2 separate regions of the Homo sapiens genome follow, and region 2 is linked to region 1. The links are contacts of gene promoters, found by promoter capture Hi-C in blood cells and fetal thymus (Javierre and others, 2016). All regions are on one chromosome and are shown on one strand. The core of a region is centred on a gene start or on the middle of the fragment in contact, and the rest is flanking DNA. Distances in the headings are between cores, read along the strand shown.

Evidence for each region. The method cuts DNA at HindIII sites, captures the fragments that hold promoters and counts their contacts. A CHiCAGO score of 5 or more calls a contact.
Region 2: a contact is called between a fragment that was not itself captured here and the fragment with the promoter of S100A7A in region 1, in 1 of 17 cell types (neutrophils). The highest score is 7.4, in neutrophils.

The regions. Positions count from the first base shown.
Region 1 is chr1:153,412,415-153,418,989 of GRCh38, reverse strand. S100A7A (S100 calcium binding protein A7A) reads right to left here and starts at 2,470. Exons shown (of 3, transcript NM_176823.4): 1 at 2,427-2,470; 2 at 767-924. The coding sequence starts at 907. It also overlaps a transcript of S100A8 not described here. The HindIII fragment of the contact is 2,279 bases long and covers 1,929-4,207 here.
Region 2 is chr1:153,642,203-153,648,777 of GRCh38, reverse strand. CHTOP (chromatin target of PRMT1) reads right to left here. Exons shown (of 6, transcript NM_015607.4): 4 at 6,349-6,532; 5 at 5,414-5,551; 6 at 2,472-3,714. The coding sequence ends at 3,509. Among named protein-coding and RNA genes, the nearest start is that of CHTOP, 11 kb to the right of the region's middle. The HindIII fragment of the contact is 7,820 bases long and covers 1-6,575 here.

The DNA of each region.
Region 1 (6,575 bases), core at 1,221-3,720:
GTGAGGACGTGAGTGTTATCCCTGGAGTTCTCTAAGGAGACTTTTTGTCTCACACCTCAGGATGGGAGGCAGGTCCTGTCCCGAGGCACTCTGTTAAGTGACCTTGGGGAGAGCAGTCCCCTGCCCCAGCCTCAATCTTGCCTGTTCCCAGCATTTAAGGGCACTGCCTACCTTAGTTCTACCCCAGGGCCTCAAAATTGGCCCTCATGCTTTGTTCTCTTCTTTCTCTGACCTCCTCTCCTTTCTTCTCCTTTTCCACCAAACTCATCTTCTGGGTTCCCTACTCTTGGTCATCTAGACCCTTTGGTACCTAGTAGCCCACAGGTTTTTTCAGATTTGCCAATGAGTTTTCTTTATTGCAAAGAGGGCTATTGATTTCTACTAGCAATGGAACTTCTAGTGCTTTCCCAGTAATCTCAGGGATGTTGATGTGGGGCCTTTGGGAAGCAGGACCTGAGCATGTGAGTTTCAGTCTCACAGAGAGAGGGTCAGTGAGCGCTGGGAGGGGACTGTGCACTGTCCTCAAGCTGCACACTTTGCTGACCATCTAATAACCTCCTTTATATCTGTATAACTCTTTCCCATTTTCATACTTTTTCGCCTACCATCCTTAGATTCACATATGATCCAAGCAATAAAGCCCTATTTGCAAATGGGAAACTTTTTAATCAGAGGATGAGGGTGACCTGTCCAAGGCCACATAGCAAAATGTATCCTCAGCCATGCCAGGGTCCAACCAACATTGAGAAGCTAGACCCCAACTCACACAGGCACTGAGGAAATTGGGGAAGTTCTCCTTCATCATCGTCAGCAGGCTTGGCTTCTCAATCTTGCCATCACGTCCGGTGTATTTGTGAAACATGTCGATCATGCCTATTATGGACCTCTCAGCTTGAGTGTTGCTCATCTTTGCTTTCAAAAAGCCTTCAGGAAATAAAGACAATCATTTCTTACCTTAGTTTGAATTAAGGTCTCTATGTGGGGGTGTTAGAAGGAGGGCTGAGGACAGAGTAAAAACAGCCCTAAGATGGAGCAGAAGGAACTTGATTTTTTTAAATGTGATGGGATAAGTTGTTCAAAAATGAGAGGGTAGGACCAAGTCTGAGACCCGGCCCATCCTGGCCAGGGCCAAGAAGAGATGCAGGTGGATGGCAGAAGTCCAGCTGTGGACAGTGCTTCAGAGAAGGAGAAGCAGGGAGAGTCGGAGGCCAGCAACACATAGAAGAACTAAGCTGGGACCCCCCAGCCTCAACCAGCACATGGCGGACCCCACTCTTGAAACAGCACCAAATCCATCTCCTCCAGCTTCACAGTCGGGGTGAGAGTCACGGGGGCAGGACAATGGCCTTGGTGATCTGGTGTCTGACCCTCCTCGGCTGCTTCAGGAACCAGACACCGTGGGCCCCACCTTGACTCAAGTGCAAGCCCTGCATGACACAGTGCGTGCAGGCTCCAGGTGCACATGTGAGCGTGGACATGAGTGTGAGCAGGAAACACAGCCCTCTCCCGAGGACAGGGGGCCCTTCCTACATTCCCTTGGGAATGAGAAACAAGAATTGCCTCTGTTACAAGGAACAGAAATAACTCCCTGGTTCTTAAGCTGCTGGATGGGGTGGGAGTGAGGTGGGAGTCGCTTCATGTCTGCTCTTGGGAAATATCTGCACCCTCTGAATCACCAAGGGTTGACCCTGTTTAAATAAAAATGTCTGACTTTCCAAAGCAGATCTTCCAGCCAGTAGCCAGCCTGGGCTGCCCTGCACCCCAAGCCTGAAAAATAAGACAGTGCAGCTCTCATTTCTACACTTTCCAAAGAACCAGAAAAGGACCTTGGCTAACGCATGTGGGCATCTGACAATAAACCCCCAACACCTCTCAACGCAGGAGAAAGCTCCGTGCCAGCAACTGACTAAGAGAAGCCACTCAAAGCTTTCTGAATCTGAGGCCAAGGCCAAGGCCAGAGGCCAAGCCCTGTGCCCAGAGATTGACTGAGAATTTACAGGTCCAAGGCCTGGGGGTTTGGAGAGCCTCCAAAGCATTCACAGGGGATCCTTATCCCTCCTCCCTCTGTGGGGGCAGAGCTGGGGAGGGGATTCAGCAACTGGGATCCCAAAAGGAGAATGAATCCAGGGAGGAAGAAGACAGGAAGGAAAGGGAGGGTCCTGTGCTCAGGTCCCACTGGGGACATTTCCACAGGAGTTGTCTCAGGAGATCCCAAAGGAGCAATGGACAGGTCTGGTTCAGCCACCTGGTTGTACAGACGTGGGCTTTTGGGGTCAAGTGAAGGTCACACAGCCCAGCTAATGGCAGAGCTGGCCTAGACCCAGGCTTCTGAGACTTTGTCCACAGCCCTTTCCCTTCCTACAGGCAGCATGGCAGGCTGGGCACTGGGCACTTCTAGAAAATGCAAAGAGGCAGGTGAGACTTACCAGAACTGGGAAGTGTCACGAGTAGAAGGATGAGTGAGATGTGTGTGTTTGGACAAAGAGCAGTCCTTTATAAGGCTCAGCCTGGCTCTTCCCACGGGTTGGGAGGCCTGGGGCCACCTCTGTCATCTGTTTCTTGGAGGCTTGTCCCATATCAGGTGTGTGGGACACACCCAGGAGGCTGTGCTCAGGATTTCTGGCCAGGGTCCCAGGTCACCAGGTCCCACCCCACCCCAGAGACCTCACCTGGGGCCTTCTCTGGCTCAATCTTGATTTGAGGGTAAGGCAGCGGTACATGTGTAGTAACAGGTCAGGAAATGGGAGAAAAGAGCACTGGGCCTCTGGACCCAAAGAGAATGGAGTTTCAGACTCCCAAAGGCAGCATGGTCTTGTTTATTCCCTCCCCCAGTACTTCCACACATTTGTTGTGACAGCCTGTTCTATGACCCCCACCGCTTACTGAGCGTTTTAATGTCTAGACATCAAGACACCTGCTGCTCTTGCATCCTCCTCAACCCTCCCCTCATAGTCTTAAGAAGCAGGTGCTGCAATCTCTATTTTAGGAAAGGAGAAGTTGAGATGTTCCCAAGTTTACTCAGCTAGTAAACACAACAAATCATCACACGAACAAAGAAAAGCCTGAATCAAATCCTTACTCTTATCCCCTGTGCTATAGGTCTTGGGTTGCATCAGGGTCTGCCCTATGGGAACTCAAAGTCCAGGGAGGGAAGCAGGATTACTTCATTGCTAACCATTGGTCAGCCCCTCACAGAAGCCCTGGATTTAGGTGGGGGGACTGGGGTCAGGGGCCTCACTATCTAGGTTGAGTGGTGGAGTGACCCCCGCCCCCCCCGCCCCATGGAATGAGCCTGGAGGTAGGGAGTGGGAAAAGTTCTTTCCTGCCCCATGGCACTAACTTCCCAGAAAGTCTTCAGTGTTTTTCCTCCTCCTATGCAAAACAGCCTGTGTAGGAGTTGGGAGTTGTGCCCTTGGCTATAATGTGCCCTAACCTGCTGTGGAAAGCCTGAACCAGGTAGGGGCAAGAGGGTTGGGAAGGCACAGGAGTCCCTGGGGCATGGTGAGGAAAAGGAGATGATGAATCACTGAAATGGACTTTTTCTGCTACCCCCTTACAATGTTCCTTGTAGGCCGCAAGAGGTCCTGGTTCATTTAGTGCCAGCCCTTTAAGCACTCTGGGGCTCCATAGAGCTGATGTGATGTCTCCCTAGGTGGGACCTATTTTCTCCACCCATCATCTTTCTTCAACTTCCTTCTCTGTCAGTTCTTATGTAACCAGGGGGACCTGTTTCTCCCTCTCCCAGTTTCCCATATGACGGCAATATTACTTTTAGCGGCAAAAGATACACACACACACACACACGCACACACACACAAACACACACACAAACGCACACATACACACACACACAGACGAATACTACTCAACCATAAAAAGAATGAAATGATGACTTTTGCAGCAACATGGATGGAACTGGAGGCTATTATCTTAAGTGAAATTACTCAGAAAAAGAAAGTCAAACACTGTGCACCCTCATGTGTAAGTGGGAGGTACATCATGCATACAGATGGAGGTAGAGAGAGAGTAGAATCATAGACACTGGAGACAGTGAAGAGCAGGAGGTCAGGTGGTGGGTGAAGGAGGAGACATTTCTTAGTGGGTACAATGCGTGTTATTTAGGATGGCTGCATTAAAAGCCCGGACTTCACCACTGTGCAATGTGTTCATATACATGTGTATGCAGGTTTTTGTGTGGACATAAGCTTTCAGTTCTTTTGGGTAAATCCCGAAGAGTGTGATTTCTGGATCCTATGGTAAGAGTATGTTTAGTTTTTTAAGAAAGCACCAAACTGTCTTCCCAAGTGGCTGTACTATTTTGTGTTCCTGCCATCAATGAATGAGAGTTCCTGTTGCTCCACATCCTTCTTTAGCATTTGGTGCTGTCAGTGTTCCAGATTTTGGGCATTCTCATAAGTGTGTACTGGTATCTCATTGTTGTTTTAATTTGCATTTCCTTGAGGACATATGATGTGGAGCATCAGCTGATATGCTTATTTGTCACCTTCTGTATCTTCTTTGATGAGATGTCTGTTAAGGTCTTTGGCCCATTTTCTAATTGTTTGGTTTGTGTTCTTATCTCTGAGTTTTAAGAGTTCTTTGTACGTTTTGGATAACATACAAAGTCTGATATGTCTTTTGTAAATATTTTCTCCCAGTCTGTGGCTTATCTTTTCATTCTCTTGACAATATCTTTCACAAAGCAGAAATGTTAAATTTTAAAGAAGTCCAGCTTATGAATTATTTCTTTCATGGATTGTGCCTTGGTGTTGCATCTAAAAAGTCATCACCAAAACCAAGATGATCAAATTTCCTCTTATGCTACCATCTAGGAGTTTTGTAATATTATGTTTTGCATGTAGGTCTATGATTCATTTTGAGTTACATATCATCACTGTTTATAAAAAAAAGGAACAGAAGAAATGCAATACAAAAGGAATCAGGGACAACAATATTAATACAAGACAACAAAGAATTCTAAGAAAAGGGATTAAATGAAAAAGAAGAATATTTCCTATTGATTAGTGTGCAAGTCACCAAGATGCAATAGTCTTATCTTTTTTTTCTTTCTTGTTTTTTCTTTTTTATGAGACACACTTTTGCTCTTGCAGCCCAGGTTAGAGTGCAGTGGTGTCATCTTGGCTCGCTGCAATCTCCTCCTCCTAGGTTCAAGCGATTCTCCTGCCTCGGCCTTCTGAGTAGCTGGGATTATAGGCGCCTGCCACTATATCCAGCTAATTTTTGTATTTTTAATAGAAATGGGGTTTCATCATGTTGGCCGGGCTGGTCTCGAACTCCTGACCTCAAGCGATCCACTCATCTCGGCCTCCCAAAGTGCTGGGATTACAGTTGTGAGCCACTGCACCTGGCAATAGTCTTATCCTTATATACACAAGAACATAATATTGAATTATACAAAGCAAACATTGAAATAAATTAATGAAAACTGACAAATTTATATCACTTGGCAGTTTCTGGCAGAGTCTGCCCAGGAACTCAACAGAGTCGTCAGATAACAAAACACCAGTAATGGTGCAGAGCAGGGCGGGCAGATGCTGCCACAGCCCAGAAGCAGCCCTGGACATAAGGGCCCCGTGGATGAAGACAGCTGTTTCTAGTAAACACTAATCTCCAGAATTGGTTGGCCAGCTGGATTTGGCTTTAAGACCATAATTTGCTGATTCCTGATACAAAATATTTGAAGGACACACTTAAATTTATTTATATACACGTGCATTCATAAATTTGTGCCTGACCATAGAGAATACATATAAATTTCTTTTTTTGTATTGAGGTTCTTTATTAAATTAATTATATAATCTGTATTAGATAATTAACGTTTTTACAAAAATTATTATTATACTTTCAGTTCTAGGGTACATGTGCACAGCGTGCAGTCTTGTTACATATGTATACATGTGCCATGTTGGTGTGCTGCACCCATTAACTCGTCATTTACATTAGGTATATCTCCTAATGCTATCTCTCCCCGCTGCCCCAACCTCACGACAGGCCCTGATGTGTGATGTTCCCCTTCTTGTGTCCAGGTGTTCTCATTGTTCAATTCCCACCTATGAGTGAGAACATGTGATGTTTGGTTTTCTATCCTTGCGATAGTCTGCTGAGAATGATGGTTTCCAGCTTCATCCGTGTCCCTACAAAGGACATGAACTCATCCTTTTTTATGGCTGCATAGTATTCCATGGTGTATATGTGCCACATTTTCTTAATCCAGTCTATCATTGATGGACATTTGGGTTGGTTCCAAGTCTTTGCTATTGTGAATAGTGCTGCAATAAACATACGTGTGCATGTGTCTTTATAGCAGCATGATTTATAATCCCTTGGGTATATACCCAGTAATATGATGGCTGGGTCATATAATGGTATTTCTAGTTCTAGATCCTTGAGGAATCGCCACACTGTCTTCCACAATGGTTGAACTAGTTTACAGTCCCACCAACAGTGTAAAACTGTTCCTATTTCTCCACATCCTCCCCAGCATCTGTTGTTTCCTGACTTTTTAATGATCGCCATTCTAACTGGTGTGAGATGGTATCTCATTGTAGTTTTGA
Region 2 (6,575 bases), core at 2,654-5,153, 230 kb before region 1:
TTTCTGAAGGAACCCCTTCCCCCATCTCCTCATGGATGTGTTTAAATCTTCAGCTGATAATCACCTTACACTAAAGGGTAAGAAACAAAATCGCCAGGCGTGGTGGCTCACGCCTGTAATCCCGGCACTTTGGGAGGCCGAAGCAGATGGATCACGAGGTCAGGAGATCGATACCATCCTAGCCAACATGGTGAAACCTCGTCTCTACTAAAAATACAAAAATTAGCTGGGTGTGGTGGCGCATGCCTGTAATCCCAGCTACTCAGGAGGCTGAGGCAGAATTGCTTGAACCAGGGAGTTGGAGTTTTCAGTGAGCCAAGATTGCACCACTGCATTCCAGCCAGGCAACAGAGCGAGACTCCATCTCAAAAAACAAAACAAAACAAAAAAACAAACCAAGACTAAATGGAGCATTTAGTGAATCCTTTAAAGAGACCTCATGGGGATCTTAGCTGTCCCAGGCTGCCCACACAATGAGGCCTATGACTGGGGGCTGCTGCCACCATTAAGGGTCCCAGAGCTGTCCAGGGCCTGTCTCCACCTTCAAGAGTCATCCTGCCCTGCTTCACAATGCTCCCCTCTCCTTCCTTCCTTGCCCCTGGTACAGGTGGTCAGCCAGGGTCCCCAGCACGTCTGACTGGGTCACTAGCCAGGGTGTGACGCAGGTGGGAGAGCCCACCGAGGCATAAGTGGGAGCCTCTACCCTAACCCCTGCTGGGTCCATGGAGCTATCTATTCATAGCAGCAGGACCACCTTTTTTTTTTCGAGATGGAGTTTCACTCTTGTTGCCCAGGCTGGAGTGCAATGGCGCCATCTCGGCTCACTGCAACCTCCGCCTCCCGGGTTCAAGTGATTCTTCTGTCTCAGCCTCCCGAGTAGCTGGGATTACAGGCATGTGCCACCACGCCCAGCTTATTTCATATTTTTAGTAGATACGGGGTTTCTCCATGTTGGTCAGGCTGGTCTCAAACTCCCGACCTCAGGTGATCTACCCGCCTCGGCCTCCCAAAGTGCTGGGATTACAGGCGTAAGCCACTGTGCCCAGCCTCAGGTGTTCTTTTAGCACTGTACCTTTACACTTGGTTCCCTCTGCTTGGTGTATTTTCTCTACTTTCCCTTGTCTTAAAAGATCCAGCTCATCAACCTCTTCCCTATGCTCCTAATGTTACCCTTACAAAGGATGCCTTGTGTTGGTATGGCAAGCCCTCAGCACATGGCAGCTGAATGAAAGGCTGACCCAGAGGAGGTCAGGTTTACTCACCTTGTCCCACACGACCAGTGACTGAGGATGACAGGGACACAGGCCTCAGGAGACCCTGGGAACTGTAGTGAGCAGTAGGTGGGGCTGGAGGACCCTTGGCTGATAGGAGAGTTCCCTGTGCCCCACATAAGCGATTTGGGGATAAATTCTTTCAATGAAGTAGGAAGGACATGGAGGTAGAAGGAAGGAAGCCTAGGCTACGGCAGTCACCTCCTTTATAGAGAACTCTTAAGCATCAGTCTCCTCTGGGGTAGGAGGGAGCCTGGCATTTTGCACTTGTTTGGGTTGTTGGGGAGGTTGGCTGGGAGGGGAAGTCCTCATGCTTTAGCACTGGAAAAGGCAGAAGGAGCTGAACTGGGGATTCAGTTCTGCAGTCACCGTCCAACCTGTAGCCTTCTGCTAGACCCCCACTGCCCATCTCCCTTGGGACCTACAGACACCCCACATCACAGGATTCAAGTTTGGGTTGTCCTGACCAAAATTTCCTTCCCAGCCCCCAGTAAGTACAACCTCCTGGCAGTTTAGGGTGAAAGGCAGCCCAATGACAACTGGCTTGGCTGGGCGCTACTAGGTTCTTTTCTCTTCAGCTCTCAACATAGGGAAAAAGGGAAATATGTGCCAGGGCCCAAGGGCCCAGAATGTTGCCCAAGACAATCTTCCTTGAGTTTTTGTGGGCGTGGTGTTATTTCTGCAGAGCTCAGAGGAAGTCAAATTCTTCACTTTCTGCTCAAAGCCACAGGCTCTCCAGAATTTTAACACAAGTAAGAAGAAAGAAACTCTCAACCATACAAGGGGTATATCAAGACATCATTAAAGTGGCTGGGTGCAGTGGGTCACGCCTGTAATCCCTGCACTTTGGGAGGCTGAAAGTGGGTCACGCCTGTAATCCCTGCATTTTGGGAGGCTGAAGCGGGTGGATCACCAAGTCAAGAGATCAAGACCATCCTGGCCAACATGGTGAAACCCCATCTCTACTAAAAATACAAAAATTAGCTGGGTGTGGTGGCACATGTCTGTAGTCACAGCCACCCGGGAGGCTGAGGCAGGAGAATCGCTTGAACCAGAGAGTTGGAGGTTGCAGAGCCAAGATCGCGCCACTGCACTCCAGCCTGGTGACAGGAGCGAGACTCGGTCACAAGAAAAAAAAAAAAAAACATCATTAAAGTAGCCATGGCATTTTGAGGCACCTCAAATAAAGAGAGTCCTGGGTGGATTTAAGCGAACAGTTTGTTATAATGAACCAGAAATACAAGATTCCACTGAAACTGAACAGTTGACAGAATATGGTTGAACTTAAACCTTCAAGGGAAACAAGGGCAAAACAAAGCTAATGAGTGGAAAAGTCCAAGATTAGTTTGGGATAAACATGAGGATATAATTGCATTTTAGCATGGCTATCTTCTGACCTCTTCCAGCAGTTCGTCTGCCATCATTCTCCCTTCTGACACACCTACCAAATCAAATGGCTTCTGATCCTCTATATTGCAGTATAAACCAACCCTATAGTACCCCTCTGGTCATGATACAAACCCAGAAGGAAAGTCTGTAAATCTCATACAAAGGTAGAAAGTGCAATTCAACCCAACACGCTGGTTATGGTATATGTGCTGTCAATGTACATGGTAGCAACTTGAATCAAACCAGAGCTGCTACCACATGTAAGCAACCTCTTATGCTGCCCTGTAGTGATGTCAATGTTCTCAGTTTACTAAATTATCAATGTGGAAGAACGCATTTTTGAGCTCCAGACCTTCTAAACATTTTAAACAGGCTATCGAAGAGGATGTAACAGAACCCTATTTCAGAAACCTAAGGATCAGGGAGGAAGGAACACTGACCGGTTTTTCTGGGATGTTTCTGTGGGGGCAACAGGGATGAACAAAAGAAATGTTAGCATGTCAGAGCATATGACAAGTGAGGGGAGACAGAGGTAGGAAGAGGGTGTTCTAGCCACAAGGCTAATGCATTTGTGTTCAAAGAGAAGTCTGGGCAAAGGAGGGGAAACCCCCCCTCCCCCCTAAAAAAACAAAAACAAAAAACCAAATCAAAGGACAAAAGGGTTTCATACAACACAGTATCAAAAAGTAAAAGGAACACACTAAATGCACAAGCTGGTGGCAAGTAAGTCCACAGCCTATTGTGATAGGTCCATCCAGCATCAATCAGATTTCTTCTCATCTGTTATCTCAAGGTTATTTACAGATGTGTTGACTAACAAGAGTCTCTCATGGGAGGATGGGCAGGCTTCAATCATTGGTTTCGGGATCTGTCTGCGCCATGTAGGCATCCAACTCAGCATCCAGGTGTCCTTTTGTTTTCGACATATATGCATCCAATTGGTTGTCCAGCTGCTCCTTGGTCAATACAGGGCGAGCAAGGGCACCTCTCCCTCGTCCACGGCCTCGGCCTCGGCCTCCAAAGCCCCCTCTTCCCCGACCTATCATACCCCGACCTGGCCCAAAGGGGAAAAAAAAAAAAAAAGAGACAGTTACAAGTAAGTTTAATAGGTGCTGTAGTAAATGCCCCTTAGAGCAGTGGGGCCTAGCTGAGAAAAGCTGAAGGGCAGGGCAAAGAGGAGAAATCTGGAAAAAAAGGAAACACAATGGGTAGAAAGCAACACATGGAAAGCACACATAATGAATCCTCTATCACATGATCATCTCTAAATGCTATTTTAACAAATTTTATTCTATCAATAAAGGAAAATAATTAACTGGCAACTATAATTTTAAAAAACCTTAATCAATCCTAAGATAAAATTACCTAACATTTGAGATTCACTAAGTTCATAATTAAAATACATGACAGATAACCCCATTTGGTAAGATAGGGAGGTGGTAACAAGAGCACAGAGCATCAGGGGTGTGAAGACAAGACAGTTTTCAAATTAAGTTTATTGGAGACCCTTCTGGAAAGTCATCTCACCTGTCCTTAAACTTATCAAGTCTAATGAGCTAGCTGACCTCATGTGTCAGGAGACTGAGTTTTTCTGACACAGGAACAATGTAGGGGAGATTTGAAAAAATATTTTGAGTTGTCCTAGCTATTTCTACCTTTAATTCTAGTTACCTTATGACAACTGACAATTGTGGTTATCTGAGAAGCAGTGTGAATTCAGTTAACAAAACAAACTCAGCTTTTTGAAAAGCTATTTTAGTCTCTCCCACCCTCGTGATGTCTCTCAGGATCCAAGTCAAGATAATTTGGAAACATGTTATTTCATCCTGAAACCCAAACTAGCTTGCACTTCACTCAGTAAGTATCATATAATGGGAGAGAAGAAAACAAGCCCTTGGTTATCAACTTTTCTTTCCTAACAGTTATTATTCCTTGGCAACTTCAAGGTCATAAGTTATGGAAGACCCAAGACACCTTTTAAGAGAACCAAAGCAAATATACACAGGGGCTTCAATAGTGTTTTTTTTCTGGACAGGTGTTGGGAGTTTTCCACTAAGCTCTAAACCAGAAGGCTCCCATGAGATTTAGTATTAACAGCAGCAACATCATTAAACTCTTTCCCAATCTGGGTCATGAGGTCACAAGACAAACATCAATAAATTTCAAAGGCAAGATTATCAATAAGAGCCAGTTAGTTAACTGATAATAATTCCATCTTGCTCTCTACCTTAAGCAAAAAAAGTCATCTCTGGTTCTCCACAGGCACCAAATGTGACATTGAATTTATTTGGTTTCAGAGCCAATGCCCAGCTCCAAGTCTCACCACCCTCTTAACTCTACTTCATCTTTGTATCTCTCTCTCTCTTCTATATTCTCATGTGACTCAAACCAGGATTTGGAGCTACAGGGTGGTATGTGGTGGTGATGGTGGTGGGACAGGGGCAGAGAAAGGCAAAACCCTAAACTGACCATTTTGGGGGGTATTTTCAACTATACAATTTAAATTTGCAAGAGCTTGGAGGAAGATGGCATATAATCTGGCTCTATAATATGCACTTGATTGATTCTTGGAAAAATCATGAGACTTTTGCACTACCAGCATGGTAATTTGAAAAATAAGCCAGTTTCAAATAACAAAACAAGACAAACAAAGAAGCCTGCCTATGACTTGAAGCTGTGCAGAAAGGTGGCTCTGAGTTTTTAAGGGAGGAAAGTAAGGGGGAGCTACTCTCTGAAGTTGGTAGCTGACTAACCTCTACCACCGATTCCGCCACGACCCATAGCTCCACGCCCTAGGCCCCCTCTCCCAGGACCTCCACGACCTCGAACACCACCTCTTCTTAAGCCCATTCGGGGAGCTACGGCTCGTCCACCTCGGAGCAGGTTTTGACCTTAGAGAGGAGGCATACAATGTATATGCAGGTAAATCCAAGAGACACAAAGTAGATTCTAACCAAAGGAAGGCGGTGAGGGTTAAATGAAGGTAATTCAGTTAGTTTTTAGGTTGGCTGGGGCAAGCTGCATACTGTGAACAGATTAAGCTACTCTTTATTCAATCAATTCAACAAGTCTGACCACAAATCCATTTTTGGAAGTTGGGAGTTAATTCAATTAGTAAGTACATACATTTAATAAATATCTACTGAATAATCAGATAGATGCCTAGCATTATGGTAAATTTAAAAATAAATGCTATGGTTCCTGATCTCAACAGATTCTTCTAGGGAACAAGAACTATACAGGGAACAGAGTAATAGTGCCCCAAATGAACATATATAGGTAAGTGCTGTGGGTCAACTTGTCCTCTTTTTCCAGCTGTATCAGTGTTTTACTAGCACCAGGAACAAAGAGATATAGGCCAAAAGACCTATAAATTTCTTATGTTTGACTTGTTTCTAGAACTTGAATGTGCTTTGATTCAAGCAACAGCAGGGTGTTTTAAAATGGAATGGAGATGACATGAATTACCTGTTGTTACGCAGGTCATAGCCTCTCACCATTGCACATTATCAGAAAAGGAATGGTATTGATAAAAGACATGCAGCACTATTAAAAATATGTGATTTCAGAAGTTATTATATTAATACAAATTCAGGCTTAAAGATGTTAAACAAACGTGTCCATAAGCAGCCCAAGAGAAAAGGGAAGGGAGTAGGGCCCGACAATTATCAGGGTACACAGCACTGACCTCGGAGTGACATCCCGCCCCTAAGTAGGGTTCTGGTGGCACGTCCCCCACGTAGTCCTCCTCTGGGCAAGCCTCTCTGGATTATGGGTAGGCCTCGTCCTCCGATTGCTCCCCTGGCCAGGGCCCCTATGGGTCGGCCTAACCGTGCCTGGATGTTACTCTTACCCAGGCGCTGCTTTAAGCTCTTCTGGAAGAAAAGGTGTTAGGGGATTGAGATCAAAAAAGCA